Regions from separate parts of the Homo sapiens genome. Here all the other regions are linked to region 5. The links are contacts of gene promoters, found by promoter capture Hi-C in human tissues and cell types (Jung and others, 2019). All regions are on one chromosome and are shown on one strand. The core of a region is centred on a gene start or on the middle of the fragment in contact, and the rest is flanking DNA. Distances in the headings are between cores, read along the strand shown. Region 1 holds the start of SNX15 (sorting nexin 15). Region 2 holds the start of FAU (FAU ubiquitin like and ribosomal protein S30 fusion). Region 3 holds the start of ESRRA (estrogen related receptor alpha). Region 4 overlaps LOC102723878 (a long non-coding RNA gene). Region 5 holds the start of NRXN2 (neurexin 2). Region 6 overlaps VPS51 (VPS51 subunit of GARP complex). Region 7 holds the start of FKBP2 (FKBP prolyl isomerase 2).

Evidence for each region. The method cuts DNA at HindIII sites, captures the fragments that hold promoters and counts their contacts. A contact is called where the count stands out against the background at its distance.
Region 1: a contact is called between the fragment with the promoter of SNX15 here and the fragment with the promoter of NRXN2 in region 5, in 2 of the 25 tissues and cell types used here (adrenal gland and spleen).
Region 2: the fragment with the promoter of FAU here is called in contact with the fragment with the promoter of NRXN2 in region 5 in 1 of the 25 tissues and cell types used here (spleen).
Region 3: a contact is called between the fragment with the promoter of ESRRA here and the fragment with the promoter of NRXN2 in region 5, in 1 of the 25 tissues and cell types used here (dorsolateral prefrontal cortex).
Region 4: a contact is called between a fragment that was not itself captured here and the fragment with the promoter of NRXN2 in region 5, in 5 of the 25 tissues and cell types used here (dorsolateral prefrontal cortex, lymphoblastoid cells, mesendoderm cells and 2 more).
Region 6: a fragment that was not itself captured here is called in contact with the fragment with the promoter of NRXN2 in region 5 in 3 of the 25 tissues and cell types used here (dorsolateral prefrontal cortex, hippocampus and spleen).
Region 7: a contact is called between the fragment with the promoter of FKBP2 here and the fragment with the promoter of NRXN2 in region 5, in 1 of the 25 tissues and cell types used here (spleen).

Annotation. Positions count from the first base shown.
Region 1 is chr11:65,025,668-65,028,712 of GRCh38, forward strand. It overlaps SNX15 (sorting nexin 15), which reads left to right and starts at 1,772. Exons shown (of 8, transcript NM_013306.5): 1 at 1,772-1,969. The coding sequence starts at 1,871. It overlaps ARL2-SNX15 (ARL2-SNX15 readthrough (NMD candidate)), which reads left to right. Exons shown (of 11, transcript NR_037650.2): 4 at 1,651-1,969. It also overlaps the pseudogene EEF1A1P18. RefSeq lists an enhancer at 1,590-1,884 and a silencer at 1,734-1,903. The HindIII fragment of the contact is 29,710 bases long and covers 1-3,045 here.
Region 2 is chr11:65,120,456-65,123,415 of GRCh38, forward strand. It overlaps FAU (FAU ubiquitin like and ribosomal protein S30 fusion), which reads right to left and starts at 1,679. Exons shown (of 5, transcript NM_001997.5): 1 at 1,635-1,679; 2 at 1,284-1,366; 3 at 1,045-1,189; 4 at 526-581; 5 at 175-351. The coding sequence starts at 1,358. The coding sequence ends at 226. MRPL49 (mitochondrial ribosomal protein L49) reads left to right here and starts at 1,866. Exons shown (of 4, transcript NM_004927.4): 1 at 1,866-1,969. The coding sequence starts at 1,892. RefSeq lists enhancers at 1,637-1,726, 1,887-2,156. The HindIII fragment of the contact is 8,684 bases long and covers 1,251-2,960 here.
Region 3 is chr11:64,304,242-64,307,348 of GRCh38, forward strand. It overlaps ESRRA (estrogen related receptor alpha), which reads left to right and starts at 1,283. Exons shown (of 7, transcript NM_004451.5): 1 at 1,283-1,495; 2 at 2,927-3,107. The coding sequence starts at 2,939. It overlaps CATSPERZ (catsper channel auxiliary subunit zeta), which reads left to right. Exons shown (of 5, transcript NM_001039496.2): 5 at 302-529. The coding sequence ends at 405. KCNK4-CATSPERZ (KCNK4-CATSPERZ readthrough (NMD candidate)) reads left to right here. Exons shown (of 11, transcript NR_133662.1): 11 at 302-528. RefSeq lists a silencer at 990-1,499 and an enhancer at 1,910-1,979. The HindIII fragment of the contact is 12,153 bases long and covers 1-3,107 here.
Region 4 is chr11:64,325,986-64,328,978 of GRCh38, forward strand. LOC102723878 (a long non-coding RNA gene) reads right to left here. Exons shown (of 4, transcript NR_188518.1): 3 at 1,499-1,551. Among named protein-coding and RNA genes, the nearest start is that of PRDX5, 9.4 kb to the left of the region's middle. The HindIII fragment of the contact is 7,757 bases long and covers 1-2,993 here.
Region 5 is chr11:64,721,898-64,724,784 of GRCh38, forward strand. NRXN2 (neurexin 2) reads right to left here and starts at 1,300. Exons shown (of 23, transcript NM_015080.4): 1 at 1,074-1,300. RefSeq lists silencers at 1,180-1,474, 1,461-1,760 and an enhancer at 2,141-2,190. The HindIII fragment of the contact is 11,757 bases long and covers 1-2,887 here.
Region 6 is chr11:65,098,502-65,101,268 of GRCh38, forward strand. The region is part of intron 2 of VPS51 (VPS51 subunit of GARP complex); the gene reads left to right. Among named protein-coding and RNA genes, the nearest start is that of VPS51, 3.7 kb to the left of the region's middle. The HindIII fragment of the contact is 4,540 bases long and covers 1-2,767 here.
Region 7 is chr11:64,239,750-64,242,514 of GRCh38, forward strand. FKBP2 (FKBP prolyl isomerase 2) reads left to right here and starts at 1,346. Exons shown (of 6, transcript NM_004470.4): 1 at 1,346-1,383; 2 at 2,635-2,765. The coding sequence starts at 2,639. LOC114841035 reads left to right here and starts at 1,346. Exons shown (of 6, transcript NM_001370414.1): 1 at 1,346-2,464; 2 at 2,635-2,765. The coding sequence starts at 1,531. The coding sequence ends at 2,328. RefSeq lists enhancers at 353-1,255, 755-814, 855-974, 1,256-2,156 and silencers at 1,255-2,274, 2,305-2,544. The HindIII fragment of the contact is 16,951 bases long and covers 560-2,765 here.

The DNA.
Region 1 (3,045 bases), core at 522-3,021, 300 kb after region 5:
CGCCTGTTGTGACCACTCCAACCAGATATTGGCACAAATACTACTATGTCAGAGTTGTAGCCAATTTCTTAATGTAGGTGCTGATTTCCTTAATGATTTCTCCCATCTCTCCTTTTTTTTTTTTTTTTTTTTTTGAGACGGAGTCTCACTCTGTCCTCTGTCTCCCAGGCTGGAGTGCAGTGGCACGATCTCAGCTCACTGCAACCTCTGCCTCCTGGTTTCAGGCAATTCTCTGCCTCAGCCTCCCAAGTAGCTGGGATTACAGGCACCCGCCACCATGCCCAGCTAATTTTTGTATTTTTAGTAGAGACGGGGTTTCACCATCTTGGTCAGGCTGGTCTTGAACTCCTGACTTCCTAATCCACCCACCTCTGCCTCCCAAACTGCTGGGATTACAGGCGTGAGCCACCACGCCCGGCCCCCATCTCTCCTCTTTAGGGTGGCTCATTGGGATCCATTTTGTTAACACCAACAATTAGTTTCACACCCAGCGTGTAAGACAGAAGGGTGTGCTCACGCGTCTGCCCATTCTTGGAATTACCAGCTTCAAATTCATCAACACCAGCAGCAACAATCAGGACAGCACAATTAGCCTGAGGTCAGGTTTTTGATAAAGTCTCTGCATCCTGGGCCATTGAGGATGGTCACATAGTACTTGCTGGTCTCAATTGCCAGCAGGGAGGTATCAGTGGTGATACCACTCTCACGTTCAACTTTCAGCTTACCCAAGACCCAGGTATGCTTGAAGGAGCCCTTTCCCATCTCAGCAGCTTCCTCAAAATTGTCGATGGTTCTTTTGTGGATCCCACCACACTTGTAGATCAGATGGCCAGTAGTGCTGGACTTGCCCAAATCAGATGATGATGTTGAGCTGAGTCTTTTCCCTCCCCTGCTCCCTTTCTTTTGAGATGGAGTCTCACTCTGTTGCCCAGGCTGGAGTGCAGTGGTGTGATTGCAGCTCACTGCAGCCTCAACCTCCTGGGCTGAAGCCATCAGCCAGCTCAGCCCCTGGAGTAGCTGGAATTACAGGCGTGCGCCACCACGCCCAGCTAATTTTTGTATTTTTAGTAGAAACGGGGTTTCACCATGTTGGCCAGGCTGGTCTTGAACTCCTGACCTCAAGTGATCCACCTGCCTCCACTGCCCAAAATGCTGGGATTACAGGCGTGAACCACCGCGCCAAACCCCCATTTTGGCTTTGATTTAACGGTGGTTTTCACGACACCTGTGTTCTGGCAGCAAACCCATCGCAAAAAAGCTCCACTGCCCTACACAGATTCTATTATAAACATCTCCATTCTACAGATGAGAAACTGAGGCTGAGTAGTTAAGGGAAACTCCTACAGCTAGTAAGAGTCGTGACTCAGAGCCCATGACACCATCCTGCTTCTCCAACCTTCTTTGCTTCCTCTACTTTCCAGAAAACATGAATTAGGGAATCCTGTGGAGGGAGACAGGGAAATAATTTGACGTTGTCCTGTACATACTGGACACAATAAGAGTTGGGTGGATGAACGAAAGCAGGGATTTAGGAAGCGGGGAGAAGTCGTTTGGAAGTCTGTGACAAGGGTTTACGCTTGGATAGGGTGGGCTTGATCACCCGGCAGAAATGAGACGAGTGATCCCAGCCTTCCCAACCAATCTTTCCAGTGACCTGGGTTTACGCTTCACCACAGAGAAGGAACTTTTCAGACGCTCCCTTGGCCGCGCACCCGGGATCGGAACAGCGCTGTCACTTGCGACAAAATCCCTAGGCCAGAGGAAGAAGAGCGCAGGCCTGGCGAGGCGGCGGCGGGCGGAGGCTGGGCCGGAGGGGTGGGGACGGCGAGGAGGTGGAGGCCGGCGCTCCGCTCCGCTCCAGCTCGGTTTCATGTCCCGCCAGGCGAAGGATGACTTCCTGCGGCACTACACAGTGTCGGACCCCAGGACTCACCCCAAGGGCTACACCGAGTACAAAGTAACCGCGCAGGTGAGGTGGGGCCCAGCGCGTACTTTACCCTTTTAACTAGAGGGGCGCCGAGTTTTACCTTAAGGAAAGGCGGTGCAGCCACTGCTCCCTTTTTAGACGACAGAAATGGGTTTCCCCTTTAAGGGGAGGTTGCAGTACGAGGCTTAGTTTACATCTTTAACCACCAGGGGGCGGGGTCCTGGGTGGGCGCTGTCTTTTTTAAAAGGGCGTTGACGGCCGTTCCCGGACAGGCAAGGCGTGTATGCCCACGCCCGGAGTGTAGTGTCTGGGCATCAGGCTGTGAATTTCTCTAAATTAACATGAAAACTCTGGTTTAATCCAAATATTAGTACTCCATTCTCGTAGAGTAAGTTTTGTTTATTGGTTTGTTTGATGTTACATAAACTCCCTTTAACGAGTTTAACCATTTTTAATTTTTCAAAAAATAATACTGATCAGTGGTTGAAAAAAATTGATGCAGTTCAGAAGGACTTAAGGAGTAAGTCGCCATATCAAGGTCACAGCAGGAAGATAGATAGGCTAGAGTTGATATATGAAGCGATAACAACATCATAAGCACAATTTATAGAGAGACATGGAGGAAACCATGACAATAATTAAAAATGAAACAGTAAAACAGGACACCTGTAGAATGATAACAAGAACTGGTAACAAGGAAGGTCCCCAGGGAGAGGAACTGTGTCACTGGGGACAGGAGTTAGGGGAAGACTTTTTACTGTAAATTTTTTGTACTTTTAGAATTTTCAACCAGGCGACTATTAAGCTGGTGCATTAGTTAACTCTAAAAGCAAAGCAGGCACATAAGGACACTTCCAAAGTGATCTAAGTGCAGAATCTTAGCTATTTAAAATATGCTTTCCCCAAACCGTTTACGTCTTTTCCATGCCTAAAAATAATGCAAATAAGGCCGGGCTCAGTGGCTCATGCCTGTAAATCCCAGCACTTTGGGAGGCTGAGGCAGCAGATTGCTTGAGCTCAGGAGCTCAAGACGAGCCTGGGCAACATAGTGAGACCCCGGATCAATATTAAAATACAGACACACACACAACTTTAAAAAAAAAAAAAAAAAAAGCAAA
Region 2 (2,960 bases), core at 429-2,928, 400 kb after region 5:
CCCAGGATCTGTAGCTGTTTCTTCACAGGAAATTTCTCTTGTAGTTTACCATTTCTTCCCCCCATACCAAAGGCTTCTGCCTTTTCTGCCTCACTGTTCTCCTAGGGGACATACCACCAACCCGAGAAGCACACCTCTCCCTGAGGCCTTGCAAGTAAAGATGAAACAATGCGATGACTGAACTAAGTGGCTTTTTTATTAGAGAAAGCCAGAATTACAAAAGACTTAAGAGTTGGCATTGGGGCCCTTCTTCTTGCCAAAGGTGGGCACAACGTTGACAAAGCGCCGGTTGTACTGCATCCGCCGCTTAGCCCGACCTGTCTTCTTCTTCTTCTTCTCCTGTTTGGCCACCTGGAGAAGGGAAGGTTAATCAGGCCCTGGTTCCTGTCTTCCACACCTAGCATCCCTTCCCTCAGGCTCATCTCCAGGGAGGGAGAAGGCAAACCGAGTAAGAGCCCAGGGACTTGGTTTAGCTGTGAAAGGAAAAAAAGTCCTAACACCATGACCACTAATACTCTCACTCACCTTAGGAGTCTGACCTCTCACTTTTCCAGCACGGGCCAGGGAACCATGGACTTTACCTGTAGTGGGAAAGGAAGGCACCAGCAGGTAAGAGCAAGAAGGTGCCACCCAGCAGAACCCCTCTTTTCTCAATTCAAGCCTTTAAAGAGAAGCTGCGCCCAATAGGTAATGAGAACAAAGTTGCAGATATTTGACCTTGAAATCTTAAGTTTCATTTCAGGATCTTCCAGCTTCTAATTTTATAGAGCACTTTGGGGGCCCTGGTCTGACCTAATTTTAGTGTGGAAGCTGATAACCAGACTAGGATCTCGTGATGTGACTGAAATACAACTACACTCTGGCTCAGTCTCCCATGGACGTCTGTGTTCAACATGAGGGATGTAAACAGGAAGAATCACTCTGAACTGAAGACAGTGAGAAGTACTCTATTACCATAGGTGTGACACTCAGCTGTCAGGACTATGCACCCCACACTCACTAGACGCTTACCGGTACTTCAAAGAACATTCCTCTCTCACTCACCTCCAAGCATGCGGCCTGCTACTTCCAGGGTAGTCAGGGCCTCCACCCCGCACTGGCCCAGAGTGGCCTCATCCTCCAGGGGCGCGCCTGCCAGGAGCACGACTTGATCTTCCGGGGCAATGCCCTCCAGTGAGGCTACATGAGCCTACAGGGAAAGATAAGGCTCGTAAGCGTTCCCTCGGGCCGCGAGAGTGAAGAGCACAAGAAAATGGAACCCAGGGCGCACCAAGCAGCCTTACCTTGATCTGGGCGACCGTTTCCTGGCCGGTCACCTCGAAGGTGTGTAGCTCCTGGGCGCGGACAAAGAGCTGCATATTGGCGACTGAGTAAAGAAAAGACGGCTTGTAAGAGAAGCCAAGAAATGCTCTGGGATAAAGGAGATTTGGGAGTGGAAAGCGGTCCAGAAACGATCGCGACGGGATGGTGGTCGCGGCGGCTCACGTGGGGAAGGCCAGGCCTCCCAAGGAGTTCGGATAGGGACTGGAGCAGGGCCACGGAGCAGGCCCCGTTCTTCGGTTCCCCCCGCGCCTTCTGACCCCGCAGCCAACCTGCTACAAGCCCTTCGGATCCAGCCAAGGCCCCATTCTTACCTGAACGGCGGTCCCAGCTACCGCGAAGATGGAGTCGAGAAAGAGGAAGAAGCGAGGGCGCGTCAGTACAGACCGTGGGCTGCGTGTCACGTCACTGCTGAGCGACCGCGCGGTTCCCTGCTATTTGTACCGCCCAAGGCAGTCCTAGCTCCGCCCCTTTACGCTCGCACCGGCGAACCTGCCTGGGCAGGCAGCTCGCGCAGGACGGGGCGGGACCAGACAGTTGCGCGCACAGAAGGCTGGCGTAGCAGGTAAAGATGGCAGCTACCATGTTCCGGGCTACGCTGCGGGGATGGAGAACCGGTGTCCAGCGGGGCTGCGGGCTACGGCTGTTGGTGAGAGCGCTGAGCGAGGAGCTGAGGGCATCGCGTGGGTGTGAGGCTCAGTGTTAATCATTGTTAACCCCGAAAACTAAGGCATTCCTACTTGGGGCCTTAGTTTTGCCGTTTTCGATCAGGAGAACTTGTCCCGAGTGTACATATAGAATCGAGAGGGAAAATGGTAGACTGGGGTGCTCTTTGGGAGCACTTAACACAGTGCCTGGCAGTGTCTATATAAGCCACAACGTTTCAGGTAAGGGGCGGGGTCCTAGCATATGAGTGTGCGTGGGGAATTATGATTGCCTTAATTCTTTTTTTTTTTTTTTTTGAGACGGAGTCTCGCTCTGTCGCCCAGGCTGGAGGGCAGTGGCGCGATCTCGGCCCACTGCAAGCTCCGCCTCCCAGATTCACGCCATCCTCCTGCCTCAGCCTCCCGAGTAGCTGGGACTACAGGCTCCCGCCACCATGCCCGGCTAATTTTTTGTATTTTTAGTAGAGACGGGGTTTCACCTTGTTAGCCAGGATGGACTGGATCTTCTGACCTCGTGATCCGCCCGCCTCGGCCTCCCAAAGTGCTGGGATTACAGGCATGAGCCGCCGAACCCGTCTGATTGCCTTAATTCTTAAGGCAATCATAAGATTAAACATCACTATATCCCGTCACAGATGTGATTAGGTTAGCAAGGCCAGCCAGGCAATCATGGAGGTACAAACAAGGCCACGCTGCCAATATAATAATATCTATTTCTAAAACCGAGACAGAAAGTTAAGCCTTAAGTTTCTAAAGGCTTGATTGACTTTTCAGAAGTGTACATATACTCTTTTGCATCCCACAGAAATCCTGAGAGGCAGACCATTCAGAGTACCTGAGCCTCCTTTCCATCCCATCTGTACCCTGCACCATGGAAAACCAAAGACTGGTGCTATCTTATGTCAACCTAAATAACAGACTCTAAAAGAAAAGGATATTTATTCGGGAATGGGTATAGACTATGTGCTTATCAGG
Region 3 (3,107 bases), core at 33-2,532, 420 kb before region 5:
ATAAAGGGCCAGCTGATGGCTTAGAGTGGGTGGCTGGTCCAGAAGGTGGGCAAACTGCTCGCTACCACCGCCCTAGTTCAGGCCTGCAACCTCTTCCCTAGCCTTGACCTCATCCATCCTCCACCTTAACACTCAGCACCCTTAGAGATGCAAAGTTCCCCAGGCTAACACAGACCTGAGTGCCCTGCGCTACTGCTACCTCGAATCATCTGCGGTTCCTCGAATCACACATGCGGCGCCCCCTGGTGGGGAGACCTTTCGGTTGCTCACTGCCCTGAGCCGAGCTCTGCCCTCCTCCTAGGCTACCAGTTAGGGATCGGCAGGGACCACTTCCTGACTAAGGAGCTGCAGCGATACATCGAAGGGCTCAAGAAGCGCCGGAGCAAGAGGCTGTACGTGAATTAAAAACGCCACCTTGGGCTCGAGCAGCGACCCGAACCAGCCCCGTGCCAGCCCGGTCCCCAGACCCAAGCCTGACCCCATCCGAGTGGAATTTGAGTCCTAAAGAAATAAAAGAGTCGATGCATGGTCCGTGAGTCAGTGCAGGACAGCCCGCGTGAGGCGGACGCACGTGGCCCCGCCCTTCCCCGTGACCTTCATTCGGTCACCGCAGTGACCTTCATTCGGTCACCGCAGTGACCTTGAGCTTTCTCCGTCCGGGCCCTATCGGCCCTACCTTCCGGGACTCGCAATCCAGGACTTATTGCATGTTTTAAGTCGGCTTCACCCACCCCGAGTTCCGCAGCTCTGTGGGGCTACTGGGTCTACGGTTCGAGTGCTCAGTTGGTGTCGCTTTGGGGGAAGGGGGTAGGGGGAACGGGGCAGCACCTCCCTCCTCGCGACGGCGCGCTAGGCTCCGCCCCTCAAGCATAGGTAGCAGGTCCAGCCTCTCCGCTCGTCCCGCCCTTGCGTTTTCATCTGTAAGTGGTCTCTTGGCTCCGCGACTGCAGCCTGCACCGCCTCGCCCACTCCTCTCGCGCGCAGCAAGCCCCGCCTCCTCCGTTACGAAAGAGCGCTTCTGGCCCCACTTGCTCTCGGCTCTATTGTCCCCGCCCTCCGCGTCTCCGGCCCCGCCCCTCCCAGGGGCCGCGTACGCATGTGCGCCGCAGTGGCTCGGCGGGCTGCGGGGCGGGACCTGCACGAAGGCCCGCCCACTGGCGCTGCCGGCTCCGCCCCGACTCGTCCGGGCGCGCAGGCGCCGCCCGCCCCGCTGGTCTGATTAGCATAGGACCCCGGGCCCCGCCCCCTGCTTTGCATGCGCACGGCCGGCCCCACCCCCGCTGTCAGCTGGAGGAAGCGGAGTAGGAAGCGGCCGCGATGTCCTTTTGTGTCCTACAAGCAGCCGGCGGCGCCGCCGAGTGAGGGGACGCGGCGCGGTGGGGCGGCGCGGCCCGAGGAGGCGGCGGAGGAGGGGCCGCCCGCGGCCCCCGGCTCACTCCGGCACTCCGGGCCGCTCGGCCCCCATGCCTGCCCGACCGCGCTGCCGGAGCCCCAGGTCCGGGGGCGGAGGGGAGCGCTGCCGCGGGGGTGGGCGGGCGGGGCGCGGGGGCCATGTGCGAGCGCGGCAGGGAGGCGGGCGGGGCGGGCTGCAGGCGGGGTCCGACTCTGGGGCCAGTCCGGGCCACGGTTGGGACCCAGTCGAGGGTCGGACTGGTCAGGGTTCAGGCGGGATCCGGCGTCCGAGTCCTGGTGGGCCGGCCTGGGGCAGGATCTGGCTCTGGCTGCGGGTCCTGACTCGGGTCAGGGTTGGGCCTCCGATCCAGCCCGCTCCGGGGCAGGGTTCAATCCCGCATTTGCCGAAGTCCCTGGGGCTGGCCGGGGTGGAAGACGGGGAGGGCTCTATGTCTGGGAAGGGGCTCTGAAGACCACGTGGGGGCGCTCGAAGGGGCCTGGGGCCACCCTCCTCTCTGGGTCAAAGGTCATCGCACCGGCAGGGGAGAACTTCCTCCTCCTTGGCTCTCCCCACTTACTTCCTGATAACCTGGTAGAGGTCTCCCGCGGGCGGGGAGGGGGAGGCGTAGCAACTTTAGGCAACTTCCCAAAGGTGTGCGCAGGTTGGGGGCGGGACGCGGCGCCCCGGGAGGTGGCGGCCTCTGCGACAGCGGGAGTATAAGAGTGGACCTGCAGGCTGGTCGCGAGGAGGTGGAGCGGCGCCCGCCGTGTGCCTGGGACCGGCATGCTGGGGCAGGAGGGCAGCCGCGTGTCAGGTGTGAAAAGCTCTGGAGGTGTTTTCATGAGTCCGTGCCTGTGCGTGTGGATGTGGGGAGACCTAGTGAGAGTGTGTGTGATCATGAGCCTTGACTGAGTTCGTGGATGGGGTGTGCGCTCCAGGAGAAGTGTGTGAGCACAAGTGTGAGCAGGAGTGAGCACGGGTTTGGGAAGGCCGGTGCAAGTGTGAAAGCCCTCAGCAGAGAGCGAGCCTGCGTGGGCTTGTGGGGCTCCTGAGCACCCCGGTGAGTGGAGTGTGTGAACTCGGTGTGAGCACGTCCACTGGCCTTGGGTCTGCTCTCCAATGCAGAATACCCAGATGAGGGCAGGGTCTCAGAGGTCCCCCCAACATCTGGAGAAAACTGGGAAGTATCCTGCTCCTGGCTAGGGATTCCAGGTGGGGTTGAAGGTTGCCTGGGGGCTACGGTTACCCTGCTCCCTGGCCTGGGTGGGAGTAGGGGCTTTCTAAGCCTCCCCCAGGTTCCCAAGGGGGAGACCTGCTGTCAGTTACTGGCCCTGAAGACTCTGTTTCCATGGCAACAGCTAGGAGGGGGCAGTGTTCCTGGGCAGTCCTTCCTTGGACTCTGCCCCCCTTCTTCCCCACTTGCTGGGCTTGGAAGCCTGGCCCTAGGCCCGAGGTTGGGCAACCCGTGTGGCAGGGTGTCTCCCATCCCCCATACCAGTGCTTTCCTGCGAACCTATGGGTCTCTCCGTGCAGGTGACCAGCGCCATGTCCAGCCAGGTGGTGGGCATTGAGCCTCTCTACATCAAGGCAGAGCCGGCCAGCCCTGACAGTCCAAAGGGTTCCTCGGAGACAGAGACCGAGCCTCCTGTGGCCCTGGCCCCTGGTCCAGCTCCCACTCGCTGCCTCCCAGGCCACAAGGAAGAGGAGGATGGGG
Region 4 (2,993 bases), core at 412-2,911, 400 kb before region 5:
AAGACTGCAGTGAGTTATGATTATGCCACTGCACTCCAGCCTGGGTAATAGAGCAAGACCCTGCCTCAAAAAAAAAAAAAAAAAAAAAAGGCTCAATAAAAGGTTATTTGAAAGATAAAAATCAGGCCAGGCATGGTGGCTCACGCCTGTAATCCTAGCACTTTGGGAGGCTGAGGTGGGCGGATCACCTGAGGTCAGGAGTTTGAGACCAGCCTGGCCAACATGGTGAAACCCCATCTCTACTAAAAATACAAAATTAGCCAGGCATGGTGGTGCCATGCCTGTAGTCCCAGCTACTTGGGAGGCTGAGACAGGAGAATTACTTGAACCTGGGAGGCAGAGGTTGCAGTGAGTCGAGATCACGCCATTGCACTCCAACCTGGGCAACAGAATGAGTCTCACCACAACCTCCGCTTCCCGGGTTCAAGCGATTCTTGTGCCTCAGCCTCCTGAGTAACTGGGACTACAGGCGCGTGCCACCATGCCCGGCTACTTTTTGTATTTTTTAGTAGAGATGGGGTTTCATTATGTTGGCCAGGCTGGTCTTGAACTCCTGGCCTCGTGATCTGCCCGCCTCAGCCTCACAAAGTGCTGGGATTATACGTGTGAGCCACCGCGCCTGGCCTATCGGGGGAGTTTTCAATAGGCCCTAAGGGAGTCAAGTCTGGGTTTCTGAGACAAAGAAAAGGTTGGAGGGGTCCTGGTGTTCCTGGCCTAGATCAGGCTTGGGCTGCAGCCATGAAGGTGCTGTGATCAGGGGCAGTGGAGGCTGCTGGCCCCAAAGGGACACACTCTACTGGGCGTGGTTGGGGTTTGGTGACACAGGCATTGAGAAGTGACAGCAGATAGTGCAAAGTGTGCATGGGTATAACTTCTGGAGAAGTTCAGGTAACATCTATGCGAAGGCACAGATTCTTGGTGTTAACGAGCATGCATATTGGCCTGCCATGTGATTATATTTGTATCATCAACTCGCACTCCTGGAGTTGGGAATCATGTCTTTTTACTTAACACAGGTAAGGAGCCCTGCTCAGGGTGGGAAACACAGATAATACTTAACACGTTTTGGGAAGGAGTAAAGAAGTGAAGGCCAGGCGTGGTAGCTCACGCCTGTAATCCCAGCACTTTGGGAGGCAGAGGTGAGCGGATCACCTGAGGTCCGGAGTTCGAGCCCAGCCTGACCAACATGGAGAAACCCCGTCTCTACTAAAAATACAAAATTAGCAGGGCGTGGTGGTGCATGCTTGTAATCCCAGCTACTCAGGAGGCTGAGGCAGGAGAATCGCTTGAACCTGGGAGGTGGAGATTGCAGTGAGCCGAGATTGTGCCATTGTCTGGGCAACAAGAGCAAAACTCCATCTCAAAACAAAACAACACAACAACAACAAAAAAACAAAGGCTTAGCTCACAGGTATGCACTAGAGAGGTTGAGCTAGTATGCTAGCTGTGTGATTATTCCTTCTGTCTTGCTGCTCTGCCATTTTAAACACGTCTTTACCTTATGATCCACTGTGGCTGCTTGAGTTCCAGCCATCACATTCATCGTCCAGCCTGCAGGAAGGAGGAAATGAAGAACAGAAGATAAAAGGCCCATGCCAGCTGTCTGTCAAGAAGCTTTTTCTGGAAGCTGTCATATATCCCTTCCACTTACATCTCACTGGACAGAACTTAGTCACATGGTCATACTAGCTGCAAAGGAAGCTGAGAAGTATCAACTTCATTCCAGGGTGCCATGTGTCTAAATTAAAAATTATGAGTTTTTTTAGTCAGGGAGAGAGAGAGAAAGGATATTGGGTGGACAGCAAGCAGTGTGGCCACACAGGGATCACCTCTGAGAAGAGGGACCTTTGAGGTTCCATGCTTCCCAGGAGATGCCCACTTCCCTGCCTTTCCTGTCAGCCATGGAAGGGCATGGTTAATACGAAGCTGGCCCAGATCCACGTGTGGTCCCCTCATCTCCCCAGTGACTTCTCTCCAAGCCTCTGTCCCCATTCCCTGCAACCTTGGTCACCAAAGTCACCCTGATTCCCAATTGTGGGTCCTCCAATCTCTTCCCTTTCAGCATCTACCAGACAATGTTCCCCGCTGGGATGCCCCTGCCCAGATCACTCTAACCTTCAGGGCCCCAAGTCAGTTTCACTGCTGAGGACAACAGCCCTCTTTCCTGGTTCCCTGTCCCTTTCCTGAATTAGTTTCTGCGGGAACTGAGCCACATGGTTCGGCTTCATCAAAGATAGATTTGCCAAATTGACATACAATTCACATATCATAAAATTCAGCCTGTAAAATTGTACAAAGGCTAGACATGGTGGCTCATGCCTGTAATCCCAGCACTTTGTGGGGGTGAAGGGGGATGCTTACTTGAGTCCAGGAGTTTGAGACCAGTCTGGGCAATATAATGAGACCTTGTCTCTTTTTTTTTTTTAAAGTGTACAAGTCGGTTGTTTTCAATATATTCACCGAGTTGTGCAACCATCACCACTAAGGCACAGGCGGATCTTTTTTTTTTTTTTTTTTGAGATGGAGTCTTGCTCTGGCACAATCTCGGCTCACTGCAAGCTCCGCGTCCCGGGTTCATGCCATTCTCCTGCCTCAGCCTCCTGAGTAGCTGGGACTACAGGCGCCCGCCACCATGCCCGGCTAATTTTTTGTATTTTTAGTAGAGACGGGGTTTCACCGTGTTAGCCAGGATGGTCTCGATCTCCTGACCTCGTGATCCGCCCGCCTTGGCCTCCCAAAGGCCTCCCGGCCTTTTTTTTTTTTTTTTTTTTTTGAGACAGGGTCTCCTTCTGTCACCCAGGCTGGAGTGCAGTGGCACGATCTCGGCTCACCACCAGCCTCTACCTCCTGGGTTCAAGTGATCTTCCTGCCTCAGTCTCCCTAGTAACTGGGACTACAGGCATGAACCACCATGCTCAGATAATTTTTGATTTTTTTTGGTAGAGACAAAGTCTCTCTGTGTTGCCTGGTCTGGTCTCAAACTCCTCTGCTCA
Region 5 (2,887 bases), core at 50-2,549:
CTCCTCCTTCACCTCCAGACACCAAGAAAAAGCCCCTCCCAGCCCTTGCTAGCTCAATGAGGCATCGAATGCCCTCTCCCAAGATTCAGGAGGGGGGTGAGAGTAAAGGAGACAACAGCACCCCAAAGCCAATTGTGCCCCAAAAGCCCATCAAGGGTTCAAGGGCTCATACCCCAACCCAAAGACCCCAGGGAAGATTGCTGCTTCAGCTGGGGGAGGAGGCTGGGACATGAGAAATGGTCCCTTCCTCTTTAGGGGTGGGGGAGCAAGCCAAGGGCCCTGCAGCTTCCTCTCCCCCTGCAGCACTCTCTGACCAGAACCCTGTCACCGCCCCCAGCGCATTCCCACCCCAGCAAAGCCCCCTCCTACTGATTTCCCAGTCTCCCTGTCTCATCACCCCCAGCCTTCCCCCGCAAGCTTCCGCTCCTCTCCCTCAGACCCCATCTTTCCCAGCTCTCCACCAGCACAGACCCATCTCTGCCTGGAGCACCTTGGCACATTCCCCTCTGCTCTCTCCCAATAACCTCTTCTCCCCTTGGCTCCCATCCCCCAGGAAAGCCTGGTCCTCAGTGGGTCCCCTCAGGACGAAGCCCTTGGCCTGGCCCCTTTCCTTCCCTCTCCACTTCTCTCTCTTCTCCAGCCCCCTCTCCTCTCCTCCCACGAAGCCCAGTTTCTCGCTGGTTAGACCCTCCAGAACACAACAGCTCCTCTGGCCCGGCGCTGCTTCAAGCCTCTGGGGCTAGCACAGACTGGGGACCCCCCTTTAAGAACCCCCTCTAAGTCCTCTGGATGCCCCTCCTCTCTCCATCCCTTCCCCCAAAGACCCTTCCTCCCACCCCTCCCCATTCTCCTCAGCTCTCAGGGCCAGTGCCCCTTCCACAGGAGCCTCCGACCCCCAAGCCCCCAGCGGCTTTGCCTCCTCGCTGTCACCGGGCCAGCCCTCTCAGCGCGGCGCCCCCGCCCCCCAATTCATCCGTCCTGCCTCCCTCGCCCCCTCCGATCCGCTCCCCTCCCCCGATCGGCTCCCGCCCCCCGCCCGTCTCCGCCGCAGCGCCCCCCCCCCCCCATTTTACCTGGTTCTCGGGGCGCCAGAAGCTGGAGGGTGGGTAGCAGAGCTACAGGGCCGCCCCGTCTCCGACGGGTGGCAGAGCCAGGGCTAGCGGTGTCTGCCGCCTCGCGCCTCTCTCCCTCCCCGCCGCGTCCCCGCCCGCCCGCCCGCCCCGCCGCGGTGCCTCTCCGAGGAGGATGCTCCGCGAGTCAGGGCGGCTGCTCCCGCCGCCGCATCCCTGCAACACCGACTGACGGCAGCATCAGCACCAGTGCCCGCCCCCGAGACGCGCGCATTGGACCACGCTGCGCTGACGGGCGAGCAGCGCAGCCAATGCAAGGGCTCAGAAGCCGCCAGTCCAGCGGCTCCACAGGCCCACTCCCTCCCTCGCGCGGGACCCAGGCGTCCCGGCCCCAGCACCCGCGCTCCTCCCAGCCTCTCGAGGTTCTCGGGCGCCCGGGCCCCCAACCAGGCGGGCCCCAAACCCGGCCTCAGTGTCTTTTCCGGGAACCCAAGCACTCTCGCCCCTCGCCCCTCGCCCCTTAGTTCGGGGCCTTGGGTCCCGCACCCTCCCCCCACGGCCAGCAGGTCTTCGCGCAGCGCGGGGCTGGGACAAGCCGAAGGAGAGGCTGTGGACCCCGACTTGGGACGCCGCGAGAGCAGGGCTGATGCGGGGCCTGGGCCGCAGCGCCCTCTGCTGGCTACCCCCAGGGGCGGGCCCGGGCTTCGAGGAGCCTAGAGAAGGGGGACTCGGTGGGTCCATGGCTGCTGGGGGCTTTTTCCAGTCGGTAGCCTGGCCCCCACCTCCCACCGTCCGGAGGGCCCCTGGCTTGGAGCCCCCAGAACTGAAGAGGAAGGGGCTTTGCTGGGATAAAGACGGAGGCGGTGGGGGAAGGAAAGGCAGAGATGGGGGCGGGGTAGACCTAGGAACTTGGGGGTTTCCCAGTCCTGCCTCATGGGAATCCCAGAGTTTGAGGCCAAACTCTCAGTTCTGCCTGGAACCCTGGACCGAGGTACGAGTAGGTGTGGGGGCAGGGTTGCGCCTGCACATGCCTGGTGACTGAGGGCACCTGGCAGCAGCCCCCTTCTCTGTTCTCCTCCTCCCATCCATGAGTTTCAGTTAGAGTGGTGCTGGGGGGCGCAGGTCTCTCCTGTAAGGGTACATGCATCACTGTGCATGTGTATGAGTGTGGGGGACTGGGGGACACCCTTCACTCACTCCGCCAATAAAAGTGTACACACACTGGCACTTAGTGTGTATACCCCGAGGTTGGTCACTGGGCTGCTGAATGAGACAGTGAGAGACAGAGTGTGTGTGTGTATGTGTGCCAGACCATTCTGCCAGCTCACTCCAGGACCCTGGTTTCTGTTGCAGGGTCTGTGATCTGCACAGCTGGTGGTAGTTGGCACTTCCTTAGCCAGAGGCAACATGCAAGAACACTTACATTCAACCACCAATGCATGGACATTGGGGCACTCACAGCCATGCACACATATCTGTGAACACTGGGCATTCCCAGAGACACATAAGAACACCTGCAGAAATGCCCCACCATGGTAACACACCCACAGGAAGCATATACTGCCCAAGAACACACACACTTGTGCACACAGGTACCTACACCAGGCAATTAATGCATGCCCAGAACAGCTGCACCCAGGGGACCTGCCCACAGTCATCCTGGACCCCTGCCCAGGCACTTCAAAGAGAGTGGTCAATTACTGAGTGGCTTAATGCGGACACCAACCCCCCGGGTGGGAAACTCCTTCCCCAGCCTGTGAAGGGGTAAGAGGGGGACCCAGGCTGCAAGGAGTTTTTCCTAGGAGTCGAGAAGGGTG
Region 6 (2,767 bases), core at 149-2,648, 380 kb after region 5:
TACACCCACGTGTAGTAAGTCCAGGAGCCAGATCCAAAGGGTTTACCTGCAGCCTGTGGAATGTTCTGGGAGCATCTGTGGGGTTGCATTCTGATGTCTTACTCTCGTGTCACAGTGGTGGGTGTGGTAACCTATACACATTGTTCTTTTATCTGATTTGAAGCAGATTCCATGAGTAGGCACCTTTCTGTTAGCTAATACCAGCATCAAAATGGCAAGAAATCATAGTTTCTGTGCTGGGATATTTCTCACAGGAATTTAATAAGATTACATTTTCCATTTGTTGGAATGTGTATAATAATATTTTGAGACTTAGCTCTTTTTGTACATCCCACAAAAGGAACAAACGTTTGGAAAAGTGTGAGGATAACCAGGAGCATTGATGTCTTAGAAGCTTAAGTGAGGGGCCGGGCATGGGGTTCTCACCCGTGATCCCAGCACTTTGGGAGGCTGAGGTGGGTGGATCACTTGAGGCTAGGAGTTCAAGACCAGCCTGGCCAACATGGTGAAACCCTGTCTCTACTAAAAATACAAAAATTAGCTGGGCAAGGTGGTGCATGCCTGTAGTCCAAGCTACTCATGAGGCTGAGGCAGGAGAATTGCTTGAACCCAGGAGGTGGAGGTTGCGTGAGGAAGGTGTTTCAAGACATAGATTTGATAGACTTGGGCGAGACACTCAGGAAAGTAATGTAGCATGGAGTGTGTGTTGATTGGGCAAGAGAGAGAGAAAAATGAGAAAGGAACTAGGTCCTCAGGAAGGAGGGGGGTGGAACAGAGCAGGGATGGAGGCATCGGCCTCAGCAAAGGGCCGGGAGCTCATCTATGGTAGCAGGAGGGGAAGCAGAATGTGGGCAGAGCCAGGCAGATAGTAGATGTGCAGTTTAACTAGAAACCTTCCAGAATGTATTAGGGATTTGGCTTTTATCCACAGAGAGCTAAAACAAATGAGTGATGTGCTCAGATTTCTGGTTTGAATAGATTCCTCCAGCTGCACTGGCAGGAATGGATGGGGCTGAGCACAGTGGCTCATGCCTGTAATCCCTGCACTTTGGAAGGCTGAGGTGGGAGGATCACTTGAGCCCAGGAGTTTGAGACCAGCCTGTGCAACATAGTGAGACCCGATATCTAGAAAAAAAAAAATAGCTGGGTATGGTGGCACACACTTGTTAGAATAAACCCAGCTACTTGGGGAGGCTAAGGTGGGTGGATCACATGAGCCCAGGAGCTGGAGATTGCAGTGAGCTATAATCTCACCATTGCACTCTAGCCTGGGTGACAGAGCAAGACCTAGTCTCAAAAAATAAATAAATAAATAAAAAGGCCAGGTGCGGTGGCTTATGCCTATAATCTTAGCACTCTGAGAGGCCGAGACGGGTGGATCATCTGAGGTCAGGCATTTGAGACCAGGCTGGCCAATATGGTGAAACCCCATCTCTACTAAAAATACAAAAATTAGTCAGGCATGGTGGCAGGCATCTGTAGTCCCAGCTACTCAGGAGGCTGAGGCAGGAGAATCGCTTGAACCCAGGAGGCGGAGGTTGCAGTGAGTCGAGATCGCGCCACTGCACTCCAGCCTGGGCAACAGAGCGAGACTCCGTCTCAAAAATAATAATAATAATAAATAATAATAAAAGGACAGCCCACAGAATGGGAGAAAATATTTGCAAGTTAGTTATCTAATAAAAATCTAGTGTTCAGAACATAAAAAGAACGTTTTTTAGCTCAGGGCTAAAAAGACAAATAACCCTAATTTAAAATGGGCAAAGGATTTGAATAGACACTTCTCCAGAGAAAACATACAAGTGGCCGAAAAGCACATATAAATATGCTCAGCATCATTAGGTCTTAGGGAAATGCAAATCCAAACCACAAAATGCTGCACCCAGTGTGGAAGACAGTTTGACCATTCTTCAAAACCACACACAAGATTACCATATGATCGGCAATTTTACTCCTAGGAATATACCAAAGAGAATTGAAAACATGTTCACATAAAAACATGTACACAAGTGTTCATAGCAGTGTTTTTTTTTTTTTTTTTTTTTTTGAGATGGAGTCTAGCTCTGTCACCCAGGCTAGAGTGCAGTGGTGCCATCTTGGCTCACTGTAACCTCCGCCTCCCCAGTTCAAGCGATTCTCCTGCCTCAGCCTCCTGAGTAGCTGGGATTATAGGTGTGCACCATCACACCCGCCTAATTTTTTTATTTTTATTTTTTGTATATTTACTAGAGACGGGATTCCACCTTGTTGGCCAGGCTGGTCTTGAACTCCTGACCTCAAGTGATCCGCTTGCCTCGGCTTCCCAAAGTACTGGGATTACAGGCAAGAGCCACCATGCCTGGCCAATAGCAGCACTTTTTATAATAGCCACAAGGTGGAAGCAATCCAAATGGCCATCAATTGAATGAATATAAACAAATATCCACACAGTGGAATATTATTCAGCCATAAAAATAGATATAACATACTGACACAGGCTACAACATAGATTAACCTTGGAAACATGCTAATGTTTCATATGCCTATGATTCCATTTCTGTTAAATGTATTCTGTAGCGAATAGACAAATCCATAGAGACAGAAACTAGATTAATGGTTGCCAAGTTCTAGGAGTGGGGGAATAAGGAATGACTGCCAAGGGTTACAGGGTTTCTTTAGGGGATGATGAAATGTTCTGGAATTACGTAGTGAGGTTGGTTGTACAACCTTGTGAATATATTAAACATATTAAAAACCACTGAATTGGTATGTCAATTATATCCCAATT
Region 7 (2,765 bases), core at 96-2,595, 480 kb before region 5:
CCACCCTCGCCTCCCTTGCATCCTGCAGCTTCCTTCATCATCAGTTGCTGCCTGAGATTCTCCTGACTTGTCTATCCTAGCCCAAGCCCAGCCCCTACCCTTCTCCCTGCAGCCTCCAGTGCCCAGGGCTGAGTGGTTTGGGGTGGATGAAAGGCCAACCTTGGGCACCACTGCTTTGCCTGCTGAAGCAGGACATTCAGGGGCAGAGTTAACTCAATTGGGCAGCCACTGGGAGGGGCAGCCACCCTAATGGAGGCTTTCTCTGAGGTGTTGGGTCAGAGCATGTGGGTATGATCTTAGTGGGCCTAAGGCAGGAGTGGGTTGAACCAGGAGACAATTCCTGACAGCGATTACTACTTTCAAATCATTTTCTCAGTCATGATGTCACTGGACATGCCATAGGTCAATTAGCATGAGGCAGAAAGGGGTTAGGGCCCCAGAGCTACCGCCTCCAGAGCCCAGTTAGCCCCACCAGTCACGCACAATGCTTCACATGCACCTCCTCACTTTCTCCTCGCTCGATTCTGAGGTCAGCATCATGATTGTCTTCCTTTTACAATTGAGGAAATAGGCTCAGAAAGGCTAACTGGCCGGGGGGATTTGACCTCAACTCAGCTGTCTCCCTAACCTTCAACCTAGGTTTAGCTGCCTCTCAACTGCAGGTTCATTACTTCAGTTGACAGATGTTTGGTGGCTGCTGGGGCGCCTGAAAATAAGTCTGGTGGGGGAACAGGCCCAGCCAGATCATTCCAGTCATGAGTCACAGCCCAGGTGCACAGGTAGAGGTAAGCCTGGCTCCTGGGAGAGAGATGTGGGCAGGAGCATTGGCTGGAAGCCAGGGCTTGTCATTGGACATCATCTCGGTCCTGCAGGGGCCCTGTGGGGTGGGTGTCATCAAGCCCGTGTTACACGCCTGTATTGGATGACAAATTCTACCAAGCACACAGCCGACCGGGAGTTCAAACGTGAGTGTCACTGTGAAGCCCAGGCTCCACAGCGACTGAGGGCCGTGGGCCATGATGAGGCCCGGGAAAACAGGAGTGCTGTGGGAGAGGCTGGGGGCGACTTGAAATGGCGCCTCAAGACCCCCTCCGGGAACCCACGCCCGCCTGACCTTACTATCACCTCGGCCGGAAGTGTCTCCGGCCTTTTCGGAAGTCACTTTCACCTAACCTTACAGACTACCGCTCCGCCGGAAGTGACGCAGGGCAGCGGCGTCGCGGGGGCGGGGCTCGGGAAAGACCCGTGCCAGCGGGCGTGTGGCCGCGGGTTTCGCACGGTCCAATAAGGGAGGGCGGCGTGGCCCGGCCTGGTAGCGACGAGGACGCGCCTGCGCAGAGGCGGCAGCACCACCGGGGTTGACTCCGGGGGCGCGGCGAGGAGGTGAGCGGGGGCCACAGCCCGGGCTGGGGGGAGCCGGGGTGCAAGAGGGCAGGCTGGATCAGGCCGGGCAGAAGCGGACCGGGCTCCGAGTGTCAACGAGAGCTAGGTGACGAGGAAATTGGGGGTGGGGGCCGGAGCTGTCCGGAGATGCCGCAGGGGGAGGGTTCTCACGCCGCACGGGGCGGAGTCCTGGGACTCGGGGCGGGACGTGGAACCGGGACGGGTGGGACCTCCGAGCTGGTGCCAGTGGAAGGCGGAGCCCGGCGGCGGGGGGCGGAGCTAGGAGGGTCGGGGGACGGAGCCTGGCTCTTGAAGGAGGAGCTGGAGGAGGTGAAAGGCGGAGCCTCGGGGTCGGAAGCAGAGGGGGACGGAGCGGAGGCGCTGGGGGCGGGGCTTCAGCCGGTGAGTGGCGTGGCTACGGCTCCGGAAAAGGGGTCTAGTTCTGTCGAAGGCGGGGCTGCAGGCCCGGGGGCGGTACCGCGTCCTCCGAAGGGCGGTGCCAAGGAGCCAAGTGAGGAGCCTGGCCCGAGTAATGGCCCCGGGCGTCCTCGCGGGGGTGGTCTCCGTGGTGGCCGGGCTTGGGGACGCCGTAGGCCGAGAACTCCACCGGGAGAGGTGGTGTGGGTGGAGCGGGCTCGGCGGCCAGCAGACACAGGGCCAGTCTGGGTGCCCCGGAGACCCCCAAGGGCTCAGAGTTGGGGCGGCGCCCCGGGCGGAAGCACAGGGCCAGGCTGGGGGGTATCTCCCGAGGACCCGGGCTCCTCGGAGCCACCCAGTGGGGATGTGTGGGTGCCTCGGGGCCGGCCCCCTGCAGCGGCCGCAGAGGTGTTGGTGTGCTGGACCGGGGGCAGCTGGGTGTGGCGTGAGTGGGGCCGCCCAGTCGGGGCAACTGCAGTGCAGCCAGATAGGGTCTGGACTTTGCGTAAAGGGACAGGCGGGAACTGAAGAGCGGAGGTGGGGACTGGGAGGGAGGGAAGGTATGGGGGTGAGCAAAGGGGCGGGTCCCTGGCTGCTGTGGCCTCCCCTGACCCCCTCCCCCCGCTGCTGGGGTCCTCGGCCAAGCCCCCTTCTCACTGGACTGGTAAGTGTGGCCCCGGAGCCCGGGGGAGAGGGCGGTGACCCGGGACAAAGGGGATCCCCCGGGGCAAGGAAGATACAGTGGCGGTGGAACCCTCCTGTTACCTACCCGTGTTCCATACTCTCCCTGCCCTCCCCCACGTTCAGTCGGTCGGTCGGGGTCTGTGCCCACAGAGACATGAGGCTGAGCTGGTTCCGGGTCCTGACAGTACTGTCCATCTGCCTGAGCGCCGTGGCCACGGCCACGGGGGCCGAGGGCAAAAGGAAGCTGCAGATCGGGGTCAAGAAGCGGGTGGACCACTGTC